Regions from separate parts of the Homo sapiens genome. Here region 2 is linked to region 1. The links are contacts of gene promoters, found by promoter capture Hi-C in blood cells and fetal thymus (Javierre and others, 2016). All regions are on one chromosome and are shown on one strand. The core of a region is centred on a gene start or on the middle of the fragment in contact, and the rest is flanking DNA. Distances in the headings are between cores, read along the strand shown. Region 1 holds the start of HENMT1 (HEN methyltransferase 1). Region 2 overlaps VAV3 (vav guanine nucleotide exchange factor 3).

Region 1 (6,050 bases), core at 2,883-5,382:
ATCCACCTGTGCTTTGTGTTCCAGGAAAGGGCTCACTGCAAAAAACCACCCTCCTCCATAAAACTTAGATAAGATTCCTTGTGTTTCCATTCTTTGCCTCAAATGATTATCATGAATACTTGTCCCCACTGATCAATGGGAAGAAAATTCCTTTTTTAACCATACTTTATTCAAACTTTACTTCTTCCCCCAGGGCCCTGCACTACAGCCTGAGGAAACAGCCCCCTCCTTAAGGCTCCCCATTCCACTGTCCTTTCAAACCACCCTCTCATCCCACCTCCCTAGTTTCTAGCTTTGTTCACTTCTCCAGTAAAAGAAAAACCCCTTTTGCTTAACTCTTGAGACACCTGCAGATCTTGTGGTTACGGCATTCTCCCTATTGCAATAACCCCTGTGAAAAGTCTCTCCATACTAATCCATTTGACAAAACACCTCATATGACTAGTCTACTAGTCTTAATAATTAAATGTTTGGAAAGAGAAATACCTACCTTCTTAGGCTCATGTTGATCCACTAAATTTTTAACGAACTGGTACCGCTGTCTGTATAGTGGAGGTTTAAACTGAATTGCCGTCTCCCTGGGAACTTCTTCAAAATTACCGTCAACCACACTACTGCACTGAAGTTCACAAACAAAAAAAGACAGGTTCTAAATCATGCATGACTTCAGAAATTAAATAAGGGGCAAAAAAAAAAAAACTTTATTTCCCCCAATCACTTTGAAAAACACACTGGCCTTCACATACCCTTTGTCCTAAAATCATTAGGTAGCACTGCATTTCCTCCACAGTTCATGTAAGCATCCTCTCATGCCTTTTAACAAGAGAGAATCTAGCTGTATGCTCCCTATAGCTTAGTTTCAGCTGAAGGGAACATTACCAATGAATGTATTCAATGAAAACAATTAGATGACTCCTAACCATAAGGGACCTTTTGTGGAGTGAGTCGCCAAAGCCTGTGGTCCAAGTAGGCAGGAGGCTGGAAAATATTTATAATGACTGACTATATATATATACACACACACATATATATACACACACACACACACATATATGTACACACACTTACACACACACACATATATATACACACACACACACATATATATGTACACACACACACACACACACACACATATATACACACACACACACACACATATATATATATATATTTTTTTTTTCCCCCCAAGACGGAGTCTTGCTCTGTCACCCAGGCTGGAGTGCAGTGGCGCGATCTCAGCTCACTGCAACCTCCGCCTCCCTCAATTCAAGCAATTCTCCTGCCTCAGCCTCCCGAGTAGCTGGGATTACATTACAGGCATGCGCCACCATGCCTGGCTAATTTTTGTATTTAGTAGTGACGGGTTTCACCATGTTGGCCAGGCTCTTCTTGAACTCCTGACCTCGTGATCCACCCGCCTTGGCCTCCCAAAGTGCTGGGATTACAGGTGTAAGCCACCACACCCAGCCAACACTCTTTTTAAGAGAGAGAGAGGATCTCACTATGTCGCCCAGGCTGGTTTAAAATTCCTGGGCTCAAGCAATCCTCTGGCCTCGGCCTCCTGAGTAGTTGGGCATCTGTAGGAACATTCCAACACACCAGCAAAAGACTCTCTCACTGACCAAACTTCAGTCAGGTTCCTCTGAGCCATCTTCTTGAATAGACCTCAAACCCTGGCCCCAATCCTATCTTTGGGCTGCCTAGCCCAGTTTTAATAAGAATACTTCTAAGTCAGTTTAGACAGAATCTTCTACCCCTGATATCTGATCACCCTATCTGGTCAAATTCTTCATCTTTGCAATGTTCTTATTGCAACAGTCCTCAATAAAGTCAGACTAATTTTTTCTTTAACATGACCCCAAGAAAAAACAGAATTTATAAGATTAATCTGTAATAGCTGTTACTATTCCTATACAGCAGTATTATAAAAGTAGTCCAAAGGGTATTTGATATCTGATGTAGCACTGTCCAATAGATAAAATACAAGTAGGCAACTTTCTTGTAGCCCAAGAATTGGAATTATAATCGGAATTAGAATATTTAAACCAATATATCGAAAATATAATTTTTACATAAAATCAATATAAGAGATTTTAGATTCTTGTTTTTCACATTAAGTCTTCAAAATCCAGTGTGCTACATATTTTGTACTTCTGCGTCTCAGTTCCAAAACCTTCATCAGAAATACTTGTCTGTATTGGATTTAAAAACTTTACATTTAAAATATACATGCACATACCCAAGTTATTCCAAACATACTTTTTTCCAATAATGTAATCAAATATCCAATTTTAAACTTAAAATTAAAAATGAAGTTATGAGCCCAGGTGGTCAGCGTTGCAGTTAACCGTGACTGGGCAAGTGCATTCCAGCCTGGGCAACAGAGCAAGACCCTGTCTTAAAAAAAAAAAAAATTAAAGTTCGGTTCCTCAATTCCACTAGCCACATTTCAAGTGCCCACTTGCCATGTGTAGCTACTGGACAGCAGGGAGCTACACCCTAGGTACTCCCAATGTGGTTTCCAAACCAGTGGCATCTTCACCTAGAAACTTTAGAAACACAAAAGCTTGGGCCTCACCCTAGACCTCCTTAAACAGAATCTGCAACTTAACAAAATCCCCAGGTGATCCATATACACAACCACATTGGGGAACACTACTTAGAGTGTTTTTAAAATAGATTTTGCTACTTTAACACCTAGTGATAAAAGTAAAAACATTTATTTTACTTACATACACCAAATGTGACTCTTTCATCTATGTATACCCTTGTTTACCTCAACCAACACCCCGGGAAATGCTAGGACCTAAATGTGATCAATTTTGTTTGCAATTATCTCACAATACATCCAGGTGATAATTCTTAAGAGTCAAAGACGCAGCTAAGAAGGGTGGCATTACCTGTAGATTATTTTCTTCCATTTTGTTTCGAAGTTTTGTTGAAACAAAAATGAAGATTTATCCTTCAAGCTCTATTTGAGAGAATCAGCACTGACTCAGCTGTAATAAATACAAAACCGTTTTTGTAAAGCGATACCTGAAAGAAATAGCTGCCTAGTTCAGAAGGGAAGAACGAAAGCCTCTTTCTTACTCCTTACTACAGTATATAATTTAAATAGAACGCTTAAAAGTAAATAATGAATTCACCTCTGAGTACTCAAAAAAAAAAAAAAAAACACGAAAGCAGGACTCGAACAGATATTTATACACCGAAGTTCATAGCATTATTCACAATAGCCAATCTGTGGATTAAATGTGGACTACCATTTAATCCACAGAATGTATCCAGTATTTTTTCAGACATTCGCAAACAGGCTCAGAAAGCGTAACTTTTCACTACGTCAAACCCTACTAAGAGCGAAAACAGCCATCCTTTCCCTTTACTATCATGAATAGTTCAACTAGATACAAACGGAGCAATCTTAGGAGTTCTGCCCATTTCATTGCTAAGACCCTCAACTTCAAATTTTTTCAAAAATTTTTCCACACATCGTCAAAATGAAATTTCGAGGGGGAAAAAAAGTGTCCTTGATAAACTAGAGATGCTCCAACATCTATTCAATTCACTCACGAACTTGAATTTAAATTTTAGTTCTCTATTGCACATGTGTCTCCAACAACTAGACTTTAATCTGGAATCTAGGCAACATGTTAGTCACCAACTTGTATTAAGAAACCCTGGCCGGGCGCGGTGGCTCACGCCTGTAATCCCAGCACTTTGGGAGGCCGAGGCGGGCGGATCACGAGGTCAGGAGATCGAGACCATCCCGGCTAAAACGGTGAAACCCCGTCTCTACTAAAAATACAAAAAATTAGCCGGGCGTAGTGGCGGGCGCCTGTAGTCCCAGCTACTTGGGAGGCTGAGGCAGGAGAATGGCATGAACCCGGGAGGCGGAGCTTGCAGTGAGCCGAGATCCCGCCACTGCACTCCAGCCTGGGCGACAGAGCGAGACTCCGTCTCAAAAAAAAAAAAAGAAAAAGAAAAAGAAACCCTGCTCACTGAAACCAACGCTTCTGTCTTTGTACGGGCCGTCGCTTCCATCATCCTGCGGTAAGCAGCATGCCCAACCGAAAAAACAAAGCTCGTCGCGGAGCCGCCAGCGTCCTCAACTCAGCGCCGCCCTGACGCCCGCGCACGCACGGCCTCGCTGCGTGACGCTACCGCCGCGGCTACGCCGGCGCCCGCACCCGCGCCTCGGCCTCCCCGCGGGGCTCGCCAACCTCGTGCGCTCTCACGGTCGGCCTTGGGCCCCGGGAGCCTCATGGTGCGCCGAGCTCCGTCCCTCTAGGCTCTCAGTTCCAAGGCGTCGGTTTTGCGTCTCGTAACGGCCGCTGTGGCGCATGCCCAGAAGCCATTTTCAAGGTCCTCTTCCGAACCTTGGCGAGGACCCCTGCGCCTGCCGCGCCGTTGACCCCGCTAGCGTGCGGCTGCGACGCGGCACGGTACGGCAGCTGTTGGCGAAGGCCCCCAACTCCGAGCGCGTCCGCAGACCGCGAGCCGGAAGGCGGCTTGGGCGGCTGTTGAGTTCGTGGCGCTCCCGAGGCGTGGCAAAGGCCTAAAAACGGTCCTGGCCAGCGGAAGGCGGCAAGAGGAGCAGCAAGGCTCCACGCGAGGCGGCCGGCGGCTGGAGTCCCAGTCAGCCTCCGCTTTCATCCCAGAGCAGTCCACGGGGGCCTTAAAGGAATGTAGGCTGGGTGAAGTTGGCCCAGTGACACCTGCGTTCAGAAAAACGTTCTTTCCGCTCCCAACGCCCCCTCTCCACCGCCACCCGACCCCCGAAATAGTTTTCCCCGAGTGTTGTGGATAGAACTGTTGATCTCTTGGAAAAGTTATTGTATCCTGCCATCCTTCCCTCTGGAGACTCCACTTAATATATATAAGTACTTTCTTTCCTGTATATGATGGAAGAGTATTAGGGGGGTGAGGGGAGGGACGAAGCTGCCTTCTTTAGGGAAAAAAGATTGACTTATATTTTGAAAGATGCAAAAGCTGGTGTTTTTGCTACTGAATTAATAGCCTATTAATATGCCACAAATGATATATTGGAACTGTATTTTCAAACATTTAACGCCTGCTGTATGCAAAGCACTATGCTGACAGCTTAAGGGTACCACAATGATAAATTACACCAATCTTGTTTTTGGCATTTTGGGGAGTCTAGTGTCATAGGTAAAGAAGTACATAACTAACAATAAGCTTCAAAAATTCAATCATAAGGCCCGGCACCGTGGCTTCCGCCTGTAATCCCAGCACTTTGGGGGATCACTTGAGCCCCGGAGTGTGAGACCCCGTCTCTACCAAAAAAAAAAAGAAATTAGCTGGGCATGGTGGTGCCTGCCTGTGGTCCCAACTGTTTGGGAGGCTGAGGCCGGAGGATCACTTGACCCCAGGAATCTGAGCCTGCAGTGAGCTATGATTGCACCACTGCACTCCAGTCTGGGCGACAGAACCAGACCATGTCTAAAAAGAAAAAACACTCAGTGATAATTTCACATTACAGTTTGAGAGGTTCCTGTTGACTTGGGGAAACTAGTTTTAGCAGACTTCATTAAAGGAGTGTACACCTTACTACAGGATGTAATTTAAAATAGAATGTTTAAATAATAAATTCACTTCTGGGTATATACTCAAAGCAGGAATTCAAACAGGTATTTGTACACCAAAGTTCGTAACAGCATTATTCACAGTAGCCAAAATGTGGAAACAACCCAAATGTCCATTAAAGGATGAATAAACAAAATGTGATATACATACAATGGAATATTCAGCCTTTATTTTTCCAATCAGAGTTTCAGGAAAATCAACCTTTAAAAGGAGTGAAATTCTGACATTTGCTGCCACATGGATGAATCTTGATGATGATATGCTGAGTGATATATAATCAGTCACGGAAGGACAAATACTGCATGATTCAATTTATATCAGGTACCTAGAGTAGCCAAATTCATAGAGACAAAGTAGAATGGTGGTTGCTACGGGCTGAGAGGAGGAGGGAATTGAGAGTTGTTTAATGGGTGATGGAAAAGTTTTGTAGATAGGATGGTTGC
Region 2 (6,364 bases), core at 2,412-4,911, 880 kb before region 1:
AACATCACCACCCCTGCAAAAAAGTCAACCTTGCTGAAGTCCTACATTTCACTATTTCCCATGACAGTAAAGGAATGAATCATATAAATTAGCACAGACTTTTCTCTATTTTTGCTGTTGTTGTTGTTTGGGGGACAGAGTCTCACTCTGTTGCCCAGGCTGGAGTACGGTGGTGCAGTCTTGGCTCACTGCAGCCTCCACCTCCTGGGTTCCAGCGATTCTTCTGCCTCAGCCTCCTGGGTAGCTGGAATTACAGGCACGCACCACCATGCCCAGTTAATTTTTGTATTTTTAGTAGAGACAGGGTTTCACCATGTTGGCCAGGCTGGTCTCAAACTCCTGACCTCAGGTGATCTGCCCACCTCAGCCTCCCAAAATGTTAGGATTACAGGCATGAGCCACCGCGCCTGGCTGACTTTTCTCTATTTTAAGACCTGTAAGAATGACATGCATGTGTGAGTGCATGCGTGCATGCAAGTGCACAAACGCAAACACACACACAAGACTGGTCTAGAACTGTTTGGCTTTTGTTATTCAATCCTTTACTAAAGCTGCTTTTCTTGCTAACAGCTTAGTCAACAATTCCTGATTTCTGAGCCAGGAAAGAAAAAAGCTGTGATATTTTTCAAATGGTCAATAAATCAAAAACAATCGACATGTAAGGCCACCTACATACGGGCATGTCTGGCGCCCTGATACTAAAAGGACACTGTACAGTGTAGCCATTACCTGCCCTCTCCACTCCATCCTGTGGCTTTCTCCCCAACTTAGGAAACAATGATTGCCTCCACAGTGGGGACCAGGCCAGTATTTATTCCAAGGGCTTCCGTTTGGGTGAATGCAGCCCCAAAATTTAGAGTTAAGTATATTTACCCATAGAAATTGTAATAAAGCTGAGAATAAAAATCAAGCTGTCACAGCAAACTCAAAACCAAGCATGTCTAGGGATAATACATTTGCTTTTTTTTTTTTTTTAAGATAACCCTACTTCACCTTTTATCCCAGAACTTTGGGAGGCCAAGGTGGGTGGATTGCTTGAGCCCAGGAGTTGGAGACCAGCCTGGGCATATTAAATAAATAATTTCTTTAATCCTGCAAATACATTCGGACCTTCGGCCACCAGGTAGAAATTTAAAGCAGACTGCCTCTCACAGAGCAAGGGCTGGCATCTCAGAGCAGCCAATTCAGGAAACCAAGGTTTTCTCCAAATTTAGCTAGGAATGCATCCTCACTGGATTTATCCTGACATCATGTCTGCCTAAATAACAGTGAAAAGAACAAAATGGGGAAGCTATAAAAATTTATAGGTGTAAGTCACCACTGGTATGGGTTAAAAAAGAATATCGACTGGGCACAGTGGTTCACACCTGTAGTCCCAGCACGTTGGGACACCAAGGCAGGTGGATCATGAGGTCAGGAGTTCGAGACCATCCTGGCTACCACAGTGAAACCCTGTCTCTACTAAAAATAAAAAATTAACTGGGCGCAGTGGCAGGCACCTGTAATCCCAGCTACTTGGGAGGCTGAGGCAGGAGAATCACTTGAACCCAGGAGGTGGAGGTTGCAGTGAGCTGAGATCGTGCCATCGCACTCTAGCCTGGGTGCCAGAGCAAGACTCAGTCACAAAAAAAAAAAAAAAAAAAAAAAAAAAGAATAGCATCACGGCACTAGAAATTAAATATTCCCCTTAAACAATCTGAGTACATTACCAATAATCTTAGTCACTTTATGAAGATTACAACCAATTCAATAAAACAACTGGCACTATCTTGCTTACTGTTGGTGAGTTCTTAGAGATTTTAAGAGATAAGAAACTACTCTTAATAGATATTTAAAATATAAGACTGAAAGATCATTCTCAAGGCCACCTACCCTGGAAAGAGCTGCTGGCCATCCATCGTGTGACTGCAGTGGGTGTGCTCACCCCCTCTACTCTTCTACTAAAAGCTCTGAGAGGGATCTGGAAGTTGGGGCTGTGACTAACAACCTCTGCTCTAGAATAAGAGGTGTCTGAGTTCAAATCCAAAGACTACAATTTACTAGCAATATTACCCTCAGCAAGTAACTAGGCTTTTCAAAATTCAGTTTTCTCACTTTTAAACTGTGAAGATATAATAACAACCTAGTAATATTGTGGTATTACATAAGATAGTGCATATAACCTGGTTAGCACACAAATGGAAACTCAGTAAGCTCTTATTATTATTGCCAGGTGTAATACCTGGCAAACAGTAGATGCTAGATGCAGTTTTGACTTATTAATTTGGAAAACAAATACTTATTGAGTACCTACTATATGCCAGACACTGTGAAGTTCTAGGAATACAGCCATGAACAAGGCAAAGTCCCACACCTCACAAAAGTGTACCTTCTAATGAGGAGACAAACAATAAATGAAGCAAACCAAGACTGTCTCAGGCATTGGCAAATGCTGTAAAAACACAGCAATGTAAGGGGGTGGTGGCAATTTTAGACAGGATAGTCAGAGAAGGCCTCTCTGTAGGGAAATCTAAGCAAAAACTTGAACGCTGAGGGATCAGTCAAACAGGCAGAAAGAATAGCAGGTGTAAAGGTCACAAGGCTAAAACAAGCCCAGTGTGTTGGGTGTATGAGGAAGGATAGATGAATGAATGGATGAAGTTCCATAGCATTTGAATCTGTCTTGGGGCATAATCTATTTCTTATTATGATTCTTTGCAAACATGCCTGATCCATGTCATCAGTTCCTTGAGGAGTAACGATCACGCATATATTTATTTGTAATCTGTACAAGTCACTCAATCAGCAGAAGATAATCGGCTGCAAGGACCTTTTGCCTCTCTTGACTATTAAATAATAGAGCCCAAAAAGATTCTCTGTTCAGAACAAACACCGCCTACTAAAACATCCCGAATAGCTCCAACCCACACTTATCTCTCCCTTCCTTGAACTTATAAGGCATGCACTATGTGTCCCACAACTCCAGCAGCAGATTCTATTTCTTTTAAATTGTTCCCTAACTCCAGTTTTATCTACTACTTCTGTTATGCCTTTGAGAAACTTTGAAATTTTACTTCATTAGAGTAAGTTTCTTTATTCTTCATGGGGACACAAAACAGGAACTAAAAACCAGTTGAAGTACATTTTCTTGTAAAGCTTTCCATCGCCAGTTTAAGGTTAATCAGTAATTAAGCCACTTTTCCTCCTTCAGATAGCTTACTTTAACATCCACAGTTAAAACCCACAATGGACACATAAATTGGCAGTGGCTAAATTTTGCTTGAAATTTTCAACATACTCTATTAAATCAGGAAGGCCTTTGTAGATGTCTTCATCATTAATGCTTTCTTCTGTTGGGAAGGGCCTAGGAAGAGGAGAAAAAACAAAAACAAAAAAACAAACCCATGAGTGAACGAGCAACAATCAGGCTGCGCACTTAACCCTCACTAAATATGTAAGTTGTCTGCTGCCAAAATGGTCAGATCAGTCACCATGTCTAACAATATCTAGGGCTTTCCCTAAAGTGCCTGCTCAGTGGCTTTGTCTGGGGTTCCCCTAGGGAGGCTGTAACACCTGCCACCTGAAATCATCTGAAGCAATTACAGCTGGTCACCACAGTCACATGTGCAGGGGGTCATAATAACGTGCTTATCTGATCTCCCACCTGCCACATACCTGCAGGGTCACCTCACCCACTGCAGCACCCCAAGTCAGACAACAAACAGCTGTGCATGTACCCTTGCCTTCAGCACCCTCTCTTTTCAGCTGTGGGATCTGATAACAAATAATTTGGTAGCAATCATCCTTCCATGGCTCCGTTCACTAGTGTAGATGAAAACTAGTAGAAGACAAAAACATTGTGCCCTTTACATATACGGTCATTGACCCTGACATTTCTGCTCAGACTTTAGGGTATTTAAGCTGTATGTTTTATTTTCGTTTATTAGACAAATGAGTCAACCAGACCTTGGGGTGAATAGAGTGTTTTCTTTGTTCCCTATTCAAGAAAATCACCTTTAATGTATCTCCTATTCCCACTGTGTGGCTTCCTTGTTTGCATCATGGTACTATGTCCTTTTTTCATAACTGCCTTAAATTTATGTCTAACAAAATCACAGTAAGCATACTGTGCCAAAAATTCTACTCTTTTCAGGCAGCCAGCATATCACATGTTTCATAAAAACCAGAGGATCCATCAAAATAATAAATAAGCTTTAAATAATTACTAGTTATATTAAAAGCAGAGTTTCACATTGACTTATGGATTAATTTAATACTGAAGACATTTGAGGAGACTAGGTTTTTCAAATAAATCAGTGTGTGAGAAATGTAGTCTCATAATCATTTTTTATAAATTAAGGCACATTTTATTATGCAAGTTCATTGTAGAAAATATAGATGAGAAAAAAAGGAGAAAAATTTTGACTTACGTTTTTTCAGAATCAATACATAAAAATTTGATCATGCTTTAAAAAAATCTTTACATATAATAACATAAAATATATATTGACATGAAAGGTATGCATGTATTGAAGAGCAAATTAGGAGTTAAACATTTATCCAGCCGACAGACCATATACATAGAAAGCTGCCAAATTCATGGCCCATTTCTGAGAAAGGTCCTGTACCAGCAGGGCATTTTTCCTGAGCTCACTGTGCTTTGTAGCCAGTGCAGAGAACCCCACTAAGTCCTGCTTGGATCCTCTCTCCCTTAGAATGTGAATGTGAGCTGGACACAGAAAAATGGCTGTGATGGCCAGAGACAGAAATATGGAGCACTGAATAAAGAAGGTAAAAAACAAATTTGATCCATTTCCATGAAACCAGGCTGAGTAGAGACTGTTTTGCTTTATTTCCTAATGTTACTTATATAATACATCTTTGCTGACTGATCTAACTTAAGTATGTAGTATCTGAAACAGAAAAGGCTCAACACAACATACACATCTATATTTTTATGCTTATCAACTGCATAATACTCTATTGCAAGGAGATGACATACTATATTTAACCAATTTACTTCCAGGTTTTTAATTTACTACTGAACCTTCAATACACATTCTTGTACACATGTTTTATACTTGTTTGATTATTTCTTAAACTCCTAAAAGCTATGAGTTATTATGATCTACTCTATAGGAAATAAACATATTACAACATCTTATAAATATTTATTTACTTAAGCATTTGTGTTTACTTTAATGAATCATATGTACAGAAATGTTGGAGGAAAGTTAAAAAAAAAAAAAAAGAAGAACCACACCAGTGACAGTCACCTGTGAATTGAGAACAATGTTTAGCCAATGTGTTATTCAACTCTATCAATAAGTTCTACCTTGCTCAATTAATTTCAAACGTGTACGGGATACTTACATACCAGGCACTCTTCATGAATGAGACATAGTACCTGTGTGCAAGATGCTTCACAAATAGTAACCATTTAATAAAGAATCATTACACTGAACTCAATGGGACACATGAACAACGAAAACAGAGCTTACCTGATTCCTGTGGCCAATGCTATAGGTGTTCGAGAAAGTCGTGATAATGTTTCTATAACCTGAGAAAAGAGGAAAATACTAATTAGATATGTAGTTCAGAAAATATAAGATTTCTTTTTCCAAAATTTTTTCAATCTAATATTAACCATAGCAGCAGAAACATAAATTTGCAGGTGTCAAAGATGTGCAGAATGAGAAGGGCTGTGATTGGGAAGTATAAACACCTGGATTATAATTTTATAATTATTACTTAAAGTAATAAATTACTTTATTACTTTAAGTAGATTACTAACCCATTTGAGTTGCAGATTCTATATCAGTATAACACAAAGTTAGCCTGGGTGGCCCCAAGCAACTTGTATCTCTACTTTTACAGAATCTGAAAGATTCTGGAAAGCTGTATTCTCCAGTATAGTACCCACTAGCCACATGAGGCTATTTAAATTAATTTAAATTTTAAAAACAAAAATCCCAGTTCTGCAGTTGCACTAGCCACATTTTAAGTGTTCAGTAGCCACACACATGTGGCCACTGTAATGAACTACACAGTTATCAAAAAATTTCCATCATCACAGAAAGTTCTATTGGACAGTCCTGCTATATAGCAAAGCAGGTGAGACTGTGGGCGGGCTCTTGGGCCAGACCACCTGAGTCTAAATCCTCAGCTTACCATTTATTGGCCAAGTACTTTTGGGCAAAATACTTAACTTCTCTGAGCTTTTGTTTCATCTTCTAGATAATGCCTATAATAATAGTTAGATTATTAACAATCATTACATTATCGTGAGGATTAAATAAGCTAGCACGTAAACTATTTAAATAGTAGCTATTCTGTATAATCACCAACTTTAAGGAAATTGCCTTAATTTAATTCTGAGTGTTTT

The links. The method cuts DNA at HindIII sites, captures the fragments that hold promoters and counts their contacts. A CHiCAGO score of 5 or more calls a contact.
Region 2: a contact is called between a fragment that was not itself captured here and the fragment with the promoter of HENMT1 in region 1, in 1 of 17 cell types (fetal thymus). The highest score is 6.0, in fetal thymus.

Annotation. Positions count from the first base shown.
Region 1 is chr1:108,656,961-108,663,010 of GRCh38, forward strand. HENMT1 (HEN methyltransferase 1) reads right to left here and starts at 4,133. Exons shown (of 8, transcript NM_001102592.2): 1 at 4,003-4,133; 2 at 2,904-3,002; 3 at 491-619. The coding sequence starts at 2,924. RefSeq lists enhancers at 3,852-4,441, 4,442-5,030 and a silencer at 4,097-4,266. The HindIII fragment of the contact is 2,630 bases long and covers 2,568-5,197 here.
Region 2 is chr1:107,773,954-107,780,317 of GRCh38, forward strand. VAV3 (vav guanine nucleotide exchange factor 3) reads right to left here. Exons shown (of 27, transcript NM_006113.5): 3 at 5,481-5,539; 4 at 3,278-3,343. Among named protein-coding and RNA genes, the nearest start is that of MIR7852, 120 kb to the right of the region's middle. The HindIII fragment of the contact is 1,056 bases long and covers 3,134-4,189 here.